Linked DNA regions of Homo sapiens: region 2 is linked to region 1. The links are contacts of gene promoters, found by promoter capture Hi-C in human tissues and cell types (Jung and others, 2019). All regions are on one chromosome and are shown on one strand. The core of a region is centred on a gene start or on the middle of the fragment in contact, and the rest is flanking DNA. Distances in the headings are between cores, read along the strand shown.

Region 1 (5,033 bases), core at 1,312-3,811:
CCAAATATGTTGATTAGCCATTTACATGTTTGTAGTTTTTTTTTTTTTAATTTCAGTGAATTGCCTGTTCATAGCTTTTTTCTACTTTTCAGGAGTGTTTGCATTTTTCTTATTGATATCTAATAACTCTTTATATCTGAAGGATATGAACGCTTTGTGATACAGGTTACAGATTTTGGGGTTTTTTTCTCCGCTTGCTGTGAGCCTTTTGGGTTTGTTTCCTAGCTCCAAATCTTAACTTGGTGTCAAGTTTCCTGGCTGGGAGACAAGCTTTTACCGACTTCCTCTGCTTGCCAGCAAAGTCATCTGCTAACTGGATATTGGCAGCTTCTCTGCTGTCTTGCAGCTGCTTCCGGAGTGGGTTCCACAGGGATTCCCGTGTGTTCTTGGTTCAGCTTGCAGAGGGACTTTCACACTCCCTGGAGACCGTTTCCTCCCATTCTGTCTGGAGTTTTCGGCCTACCCCAAGACAATGAGATATTCCTGACCTTTCCACCTATTTCCCTCCAACCCCACCTTCCGAAATACATTTGCTCAATACATTTGCACTTCATAGGCTTCTTTAGCTGTCTTCCTTTTACCCCGGACGGGATGTAGATGTTAATTCTGGAACAATTGCAGCTACAAGAATTTGTCATCCTGCCCCTTTTGAGAAAAACATTGTTTGCCCTTGGGTCTAAATCCTTCCAGATGGGATGGGATGTATCTTGTCACCTCCTTTTTCTTACTTAATATGAAAAGACCTTTCCTCATCAAGTCCACAGAGTGTAAATTTGTTTTTACCTTTTTTTTTTTTTTTTTGAGACGGTGTCTCACTCTGTCACCCAGGCTGGAATGCAGTGGTGCGATTTTGGCTCACTGCAACCTCCACCTCCTGGGTTCAAGTGATTCTCCTGCCTCGGCCTCCGTAGTAGCTGGGATTACAGGCGAAGCGCCACCATGACCGGCTAATTTTTTGTGTTTTTAGAAGAGATGGGGGCTTCACCATATTGACCAAGCTGGTCTCGAACTCCTGACCTCAAGTGATCCGCCTGCCTCAGCCTCCCAAAATGCTGGGATTACAGGCGTGAGCCACTGCACCTGGCCTGTATCATTCTTAAAAATTAAGTTTTAGCGGGGCATGATGGCTCACTGGTAATCCCAGCAGTTTGGGAGGCTGAAGGGGGAGGATTACTTGAGACCAGGAGTTTGAGAACAGCCGGGGCAACATAGCGAGACTCCATCTCTACAAAAAATTTAAAAATTAGCTGGGCGTGGTTGAGTGCACTTGTAGTCCCAGCTACTTGGGAGGCTGAGGCAGGAGGATCAGTTGAGCCCAGGAGGTTGAGGCTGCAGTGAGCCATGATCATGTGATCATGCCACTGCACTCTAGCCTGAGCCACAGAGTAAGACCCTCTCTGTGAAAATAATAATAAGCTGGGCGCGGTGGCTCACGCCTGTAATCCCAGCACTTTGGGAGGCTGAGGTGGGCGGATCAGGAGGTCAGGAGTTCGAGACCAGCCTGGCCAATATGGTGAAACCCCATCTCTACTATAAACAAAAATTAGCCGGGCGTGGTGGCGCGTGCCTGTAGTCCCAGCTACTCAGGAGGCTGAAGCAGGAGAATCGCTTGAACCCGGGAGGCGGAGGTTGCAGTGAGCCGAGATCGCGCCACTGTACTCTAGCCGGGGCAATGGAGTGAGACGCTGTCTCAAAAAAAAAAAAAAAGAAAATAATAATAATAATAATAATAATGTTCAGATGTATTTTTTAAAGTTTTTATTGTTTTTAAAAATAGAGGCACGGTCTTGCTATGTTGCACCACTGCACTCCAGCCCGGGCAACAAAGCCAGACTCCGTCTCAAAAAAAAAAAAAAAAAAGTGTGATACTAAGTCAATCAATTTGAAAATGCGGCTCTAGAGTATTGGAAAACAATCCCTTGACAGCGTTTCCATGAAAACATGGCCCTTGTCTCTGGAAGAGCTTGTGCCCAGAACGGTCCATTATCATGCCCTGGCTCTATTTTCACGCCAACCCTATAGGGTCTCTATGATCTCATTTTATAGATGGACAGACTGAGGCTCACATATAGCAAGCCCAAGGCGGGGACTGAATGTGACGCCAGGTCTGTGGACGTCATGACCTTTATTCTCCACAACCCTCAATGACATCCCTGTGAGATCCAAAACCAGGATGGCAAAACCCACGTTGCAGCAGAGGAAACTGAGGCTAAGGTCTCTTGGGTCCCAAACCAGGTCCTAAGTAGCCAAGTCCGCCTGGTGGCACAGCCCGGGTTTTATACATGGGGAAATTGGGCGGCGCATCTGGCGGAGGTCTCAGTGGTAGGAGGCGCCTGGAGGAAGCGCGGGTTCCTAACCCTAACGCTACCCCTAACATCCCTTCCACGCGCTCCGAGCGCTATGTGCCTTTAAGATCGGTGCGGGGGCGGGGCGTCCTGGGTAGGGCTGCAGGTGACGTCACTCCGGGCCTTGGGACTCGGAGAGCGTCTGGAGGCGGGGCCTGGACTTCACGCCCGGCGCGCTCCTCCCCTTTAAGGCGCGCGGCCGGGCGGGGCCCCTATGACCCCTTTAAGGCGCGGCCAGAGTCCTCCCGCAGAAAAACGACTTAAAGGAGACGCGTGGCGCGATGGCGGCGGCCCCACGCGCGGGCCGGCGGCGCGGGCAGCCGCTCCTGGCGCTGCTGCTTCTGCTGCTGGCGCCACTGCCGCCGGGGGCCCCGCCGGGCGCCGACGCCTACTTCCCCGAGGAGCGCTGGAGCCCGGAGTCGCCCCTGCAGGCGCCGCGCGTGCTCATCGCGCTGTTGGCGCGAAACGCGGCCCACGCGTTGCCCACCACGCTGGGCGCACTCGAGCGGCTGCGGCACCCGCGGGAGCGCACGGCGCTATGGTGAGTCGAGCCCGCTGTCCCCATCAGGCGGGTCACGCGAGCCCCTGCTTGCTGTCCCCATAGGGGTGGGTCCACGCGAGCCCCTGCCCGCTGTCCTCTTCTGGGCGGGTCCGCGCGTGCTTCCTGCTCGCTACCCCCATCGGGACGGTTCTACGCATGCCCCTGCCCGCTGCCCCCATCGGGACGGGTCCACGCGTGCCCCCTGCCTGCTGTCCTCCCATGGGGCCAGACACAGCCCTCCCCACAACACAAGCGGGACCGAGTTCCTCCTGCTGGCTCCTTTGGGGTGGGCTGGGCACCGCTTCTGCCTGCTGGACCCTACTAGGGCAGCTCCGGCCTCACTAACTGGGGCTCTAACTCCCTCTGGGGCACGTACACCTCCAAAGGACGGAGCCCAGAGCCCCCACTGGGGCGTTGCCAGAGGCCACATCTAACAGCAAGCCTTTCTGTGCCGGCTGCTGCCCTTAAGCTTGAACTCAGCCTGGCTCCAGGCCCCAGTCAAACCCCTGCCCTCAGACCGGCGTGGGTGGAGTCCAGGACCAGATGGCCCAGGAGGAAGTGGATGCTTTCTTGGTAGGGAATGGGGCAGAGCTCTGAAGAAACCTTTGACTGGTGACTTCTCACTCCCTGCCTCAGTTTTCTCAAATGGAAAATGGGTCCGGGTGCAGTGGCTCACGCAGTAATCCTAGCAATTTGGGAGGCCAAGGTAAGCGGGTCACTTGAGCTCAGGAGTTCGACACCAGCCTTGCCAACATGGCAAAACCCCGTCTCTAGAAAAAAAATACAAAAATTAGCCAGGTGCGGTGGTGTGTGCCTGTAGTCCCAGCTATTCAGGAGGCTGACGCAGGAGAATCGCTTGAGCCCAGGAGTTCGAGGCTGCAGTGACCTATGATTGCACCACTGCACTCCAGCCTGGGCTACAGAGTAAGACCTGCCTCTAAAAAAAGAAAAAGAAAAGAAAATGAGCGTATTAATATAATTCTCTTTTTGGGTTTGTCTCTGAAGATTATCCAGTTAATGGATGTGGAGCCCTTGGGTCTGGCATGGGCTTGGCTCTCAGTGATTTTATTATCATGATTACTGTCATTGCTGGTGTTATTGTCAACTTAATTTATTGGGCAGAATTAGCTTTTGGCACTACGGTCAAACTAAACTCCCAAATGTCGCTTTTCCTTCCACCTGATTTCTCAGTCTGGATAATCCAAATACACAATTGGTACTTAACAAATGTTTGTTGAATGAATAATTGACTGCAGCCCACTGAAGTGGTGTGGCTCACAGGAGAAGATGAAGGCAGGGTAAGGGATTTATGAGATATACTTTGAGATATACTTTTTTTTTTCTCTCAGACGGAATCTTGCTCTGTCGCCCAGGCTGGAGTACAGTGACACGATCTCAGCTCATTGCAACCTCCGCCTCCGGGTTCAAGTGATTCTCCTGCCTCAGCCTCCCGAGTAGCTTGGGATTACAGGTGCGCACCACCATGCCTGGCTAATTTTTGTATTTTTAATAGAGTCAGGGTTTCACCATTGTGGCCAGGCTTGTGTTGATCTCCTGACCTCATGATCTGCCTGCCTCGGCCTCCCTAAGTGCTGGGATTACAGGCATGAGCCACAGCGCCCTGCTGAGATATACTTTTTTTTTTGATACAGGGTTTTACATCTGTCGCCCAGGCGGGAGTGCAGTGGTGCAATCCTAGCTCACTGCAACTTCCCCCTCCTGGGCTCAAGTGATTCTCCTGCCTCAGCTTCTTGAGTAACTGGGACTACAGGCGTATGCCACTGCGCCCAGCTAATTTTTGTATTTTTTCTAGAGATGGGGTTTTGCCCTATTGGCCAGGCTGGTCTCGAACTCCCGAGCTCAAGTGACCTGCCCACCTCGGCCTCCCAACATATTGGGATTACAGGCGTGAGCCATTGCACCCAGCTGGTTTCTGATATATACATTTCATTTTTTAATATTTTTTATTTATTTATTTTTTGAGACTGAGTCTCGCTCTCGTTGCTGAGGCTGGAGTGCAGTGGCACGATCTCGGCTCACTGCAACCTCCTCCTCCCAGGTTCAAGCGATTCTCCTGCCTCGGCCTCCTGAGTAGCTGGGATTACAGGTGCCCGCCACCACACCCAGCTAATTTTTTGTGTTTTTAG
Region 2 (5,033 bases), core at 1,023-3,522, 1.5 Mb after region 1:
AAATTCAGGCTGGGTGTGGTGGCTCACACCTGTAATCCCAGGACTTTGGGAGGCTGAGGTGAGCGGATCATTTAAAGTCAGGAGTTGGAGACCAGCCTGGCCAACATGGCAAAACCCTGTCTCTACTAAAAATACAAAAATTAGCCGGGCATGGTGGTGCCTGCCTTTAATCCCAGCTACTTGGGAGGCTGTGGCAAGAGAATTGCTTGAACCCAGGAGGCGGAGGTTGCAGTGGGCCGAGATCATGCCACTGCACTCCAGCATGGGTAACAGAGTGAGACTCCGTCTCAAAAAAAAAAAAAAAAAAATTTCACCAGGCATGGTGGCACGTGCCTGTAATCCCAAATACTCAGGAGGCTGAGGCATGGGAATTGCTTGAACCAGGGAGACAGAGGTTGCAGTGAGCCGAGATCATGCCACTGCCCTCCAGACTGGGGGACAGAGCGAGACTGTCTCAAAGAAAAAAAAAATGCGTGCTCACAGAACCTGCTCTATTTCACTTAATCCTCGAAGTAAGGAGGCAGTAATCCATAATCCTCGCATGGTACTTCAGAGGCAAGCTGGACCCTTTTTATTTATCTTTTTTTTTTTTTTTTTTAAGTAGAGACAGGGTTTTGCTAGGTTGGCCAGGCTGGTCTCGAACTCCTGACCTCAAGCAATCTGCCCACCTTGTCTGGACTCTTTTAAGGGGGTCTCTGCCCTCACGAAGTTCACAGGTGTGTGCTGGCTGAAAAGGAGCAAGACAAACCTTCTCTGGGCCCATCTCCTTGGAATCCATTAAAAGCAGCTCTGTGAAAGCAGTTCTATCTGCTGGAGGAAGGTGTCAACCAACACACATAACTGAGCATAACAGAGTAGGAAGGGTGGGACCACAACCCTCGCAAATCGTGGTTAGGAAAGAAGAGATCAATCTTTTTTTTTTTTTTCTTCCTTTTTTTGAGACTCTCCCTGTTGCCCAGGCTGGAGTGCAGTGGCATGATCTCGGCTAACTGCAACCTCCGCCTCCTGGACTCAAGCAATTCTCCTGCCTCAGCCTCCTGAGTAGCTGGGATTACAGGAGTCCGCCACCGCATCCGACTAATTTTTATATTTTAGGTAGAGATGGAGTTTCACCATGTTGGCCAGGCTGGTCTTGAATTCCTGACCTCAAGTGATTCGCCCGCTTCGGCCTCCCAAAGTGCTGGGATTCCAGGCCGTGAGCCACTGCGCCTGGCCCAGGATCACTCTTTTCCCATTCACAGACTCAGCAGGGCACAGAGGCTCTGAGAACTTCCTTCCCTTCTAAAAGAAGCCTCTTGACAGTGAGTGGCGGGACCCCCAACCAATGACAATGAACTAGTGACAGTTCATTCTGCGCTGGGTCCTTGCGCGATCTCCCAACCACCCACTGAAGAGGCGGGTCCTGTTATGAATGACATTAGGGTGAGGAGGCAAAGGGAGACAGACTCAACGACCCATTCAAGACCAGACAGCCCAGATTTGAACCTGGCAAAAAGGGTATTCGTGCATCCAAAGCCCCGAAGAATGAGTAAAAAGATTAAGCAACATTTTGGGGTCCAGGGGCTGCATCCTTAACCATCAAGATATCCCGCTTCGCAAAACCTCCAACTTCAAGAGACAACCCGTAGGGTCCATTTCCCATCACGATCACCGCCTCCCCCACCCGCCTCCCCCAGTCCCATCCTTCAGCCCTTTTCCCGGGGCGCCCCCTTGTTCTCTGCTGGCAAAGGGCAGGGTTCCCGGGTCAGGTGACCCAGGTTCAAATCACACGATTCTAAGCTTTCTGTGCTTCCGTTTCCCCACCTATGGAATGGGCAGCCAGTAAAGGGGCTGGTGTGGGGGCTGAACCGGTTCTAAAGAGGGCAAGGGCCCGATGCAGCGCTGGGCGCCGTTATCTCCTCCCGAGCGGGGGCCGCTCCGAGTTCGGGAGGAATGAATGAACGACTGAACCAATGAGCCTTTGTGGACGCGGCCCGCCGTCTCCCGGCCTCTGCGGGCGAGGAAATGGGGGCGCCGGGCCCGGGAGGCCGCAGCCGGCCACCCAGGCCAACCCGGCGGGGACGCGGCCGCCGCCGCAGCCAGAGGGCCGAGCCTGCGACGCCATCACGGAGCCCGGGGCGGGCCCCCAAGGCCGAGCCCGAGCTTCCCACCCCGGGAGCCACCCACCGACGACGCCAGGGCCCGGGCCTCACCCCGAGACCACCGCGCGCGGAGCCACCCCCGCCGCCGCCTCAGGCTCCTCACCCGCCGCCGCCGCCGCGCGAGGCGGGGACATGCAAATGAACCAACGGTCTCCGCAGCGCCGCGCCGCGCAGGCGCAAGCCGCCGCCGAGTCCTGGTGCGCAGGCGCGGGCCGCCGCGGCCCGGCTCTCTTGCGCAAGCGCGCTGTCCGCTTCTTCTGGGCGGACGCTCTGGAGGCAAAACATTTCCCTGCTGGGGGCGGCGACCACCGTGAGCGTCCCGGAAGGGGCGGCAAAGACGCCTCCGTCGCGCACGAGGTGGCCTCGTTGGCTTTACCTTGGTTCGCGGTCGTCCTTGGTTATCGTGAGCGTCCGCGAGTCTCTGGGAGGCCAAGCCTAGGGGCGCCACAGCGCCTGCGCGCGTACGGCGGCCGGAAGGGGCTAGAGGCGGCTCCCTGGGTGACAACCGCGCGCCCCACCTTTCCCCACGTGGCCGCGAAGACCGGGTGAGACGCTGCGGCTGCCGAGGCCTGTCCCGCGCGGAGTGGGGAGTGGGGGTGCCGCAGGGTCGGGCTGGCGCGACCCTCGGGTACGTGGTTTGGGGGGAAAAAAAAAATGAAAGAATTTTACAGAAGCCGCCTGGGGACAAAATCCTCGGCTTCCCTGGCATTCGCTTTATTTTCATTCATTTTATTTATTCATTCAGCACCTGTGCACTGAGTGCCTGCTGCGTGTCGGGCCCCGTCCTAGGCAGTGGGGACAAGGAGGCTACAGGGTACAAATAAATGAGTGAACGATGTTGCTCTAGATACAGGTAATGGTGTGCAAATAATAACAGAGTGATGGGACGGGAAAGCAGGGCTGCTCTTTATCTAGAAGTGGTTTTGAAGGCTGTCTCTTGAGTGCTGGGAAGGATGAGAAAGGCGGGGAAGAGGAACTTGGAAGGCTTAGATAGAGAAGGTGCGGATAAGGAGGCTGGGTTTTGTTCTGAGAGGGTTGGGAAGCCACTACCGGGCTTTGAGCACGTGAGTGAGGTGGAGTCTAGGCTCTGGGAGTGGCAGGTGACGCCGCCCTTAGGGGAGGCTGGTGTTTGAACCAGAGTGGGTGTGGCTGGTAGAGGGACATGTGGATGGAGTCTTTTAGAGTCCCCAGCATGTCATGGCACACGTTTAATTTTCTTTTGAGACGGAGTCTTTCTCTGTCGCCCAGGCTAGAGTGTAGTGGCATGATCTTGACTCACTGCAACCTCCACCTCCCGGGTTCAAGGGCTTCCCCTGCCTCAGCCTCCCGAGTAGCTGGGACTACAGGTGCGCAACACCGCACCTGGCTAAATTTTGTATTTTTTTTTTTTTTGAAACGGAGTCAAAAGGAGTTCAAGCGATCTCCTGCCTCAGCCTCCTGAGTAGCTGGGATTACCGGTGTGCACTATCTTGCCTGGCCTTTTTTTTTTTTTTTGAGACGGAGTCTCGTTCTGTCACCCAGGCTGGAGTGCAGTGGCGCAATCTCAGCTCACTGCAAGCTCCGTCTCCTGGGTTCAGGCCATTCTCCTGCCTCAGCCTCCCGAGTAGCTGGAAATACAGGCACCCGCCACCACGCCCGGCTAGTTTTTTTGTATTTTTTTAGTAGAGACGGGGTTTCACCGTGTTAGCCAGGATGGTCTTGATCTCCTGACCTCATGATCCGCCCGCTTCGGCCTCCCAAAGTGCTGGGATTACAGGCGTGAGCCACCGTGCCCGGCCCTGGCTAATTTTTTGTATTTTCAGTAGAGACAGGATTTTGCTATGTTGGCCAGGCTGTTCTCAAACTCCTGACCTCAAGTGATCTACCCGCCTCAGACTCCCAAAGCGCTGGGATTATAGGCCTGAGCCACCGCACCTGGACAGCACAGTTTTCTTGATGAGCAGATTCCTGGCTGAGAGAAGGAAACTGGCTGCCAGTTAGGGGCCTTACTCATCTTCTGTTTTACCCTCAGCATGCCCTGATGGATAATAGGGACTGGTAATGCTGCTTCCCCCTTTTAGCCTAGGCTGTTCTCCAGGTAATTCTTACTTGGCCATCTCCAGGCACCATCTTATGTGTTCCAAATCTGTACTTTCCTCCTCCAACTCAGCCCTGTACCAGATCTAGGGGACCTTGGAGGACTCAGGTCAGGGGTGGTCACAGAGCCAGACCTTCCCAACTCAGTCAGCTCAGGGGTGGGTGGAAGGGAGGGGTTGTGGGTTGGGGAGTGAAGCCAGAGAGTGTGGGCTCTCTGAGTGGCCAGGAAAGGCAGCCACCTGGAAGGGCTGGCAGAAGCTCCACAGAGGACTGAGAATCCGAAGTATTTGAGACAGGTGTCAATCAGTTAGAAAGCTTATTTTGCCAAGGTTAAGGACATGTCTGTGACACAGCCTCAGGAGGTCCTGACAACATGTACCCAAGGTGGTTGGGGCACAGCTTGCTTTTATACATTTTAGGGAGACGTGAGATATAAATGAATATGTGTAAGATGGTCACAGGTAGAGACAAATGATTGCTTTCTTTTGAGTCTTTGGTCAGCCTTTCACAGAATACACGATTTATATGGGGTACAGGGCAGGTAGAGGAATAGTCATTTATGCCTCAGTCCGACTCATGAATCTGAGGTTTTGTTTCTTGTTTTTTGTTTTATTTTTTGAGATAGAGTCTCGCTCTGTCGCCCAGGCTGGAGTGCAATGGCGCAATCTTGGCTCACTGCAACCTCCACCTCCCGGGTTCAAGCAATTCTCTTGCCTCAGCCTCCTGAGTAGCTAGGATTACAGGCGCCCACTACCACGCCCAGTTAATTTTTATATTTTTAGTAGAGACGGGGTTTCGCCATGTTGGTCAGGCTGG

Evidence for each region. The method cuts DNA at HindIII sites, captures the fragments that hold promoters and counts their contacts. A contact is called where the count stands out against the background at its distance.
Region 2: the fragment with the promoter of SUGP2 here is called in contact with the fragment with the promoter of COLGALT1 in region 1 in 1 of the 25 tissues and cell types used here (lymphoblastoid cells).

What each region holds. Positions count from the first base shown.
Region 1 is chr19:17,553,088-17,558,120 of GRCh38, forward strand. COLGALT1 (collagen beta(1-O)galactosyltransferase 1) reads left to right here and starts at 2,562. Exons shown (of 12, transcript NM_024656.4): 1 at 2,562-2,886. The coding sequence starts at 2,627. NIBAN3 (niban apoptosis regulator 3) reads left to right here. Exons shown (of 15, transcript NM_001321827.2): 15 at 1-553. RefSeq lists a silencer at 2,640-2,729. The HindIII fragment of the contact is 12,267 bases long and covers 1-5,033 here.
Region 2 is chr19:19,031,245-19,036,277 of GRCh38, forward strand. It overlaps SUGP2 (SURP and G-patch domain containing 2), which reads right to left and starts at 2,273. Exons shown (of 11, transcript NM_001017392.5): 1 at 2,193-2,273. ARMC6 (armadillo repeat containing 6) reads left to right here and starts at 2,359. Exons shown (of 9, transcript NM_001199196.2): 1 at 2,359-2,686; 2 at 2,887-2,994. The coding sequence starts at 2,966. RefSeq lists an enhancer at 1,005-1,506 and silencers at 1,433-1,512, 1,933-2,362. The HindIII fragment of the contact is 6,904 bases long and covers 1-5,033 here.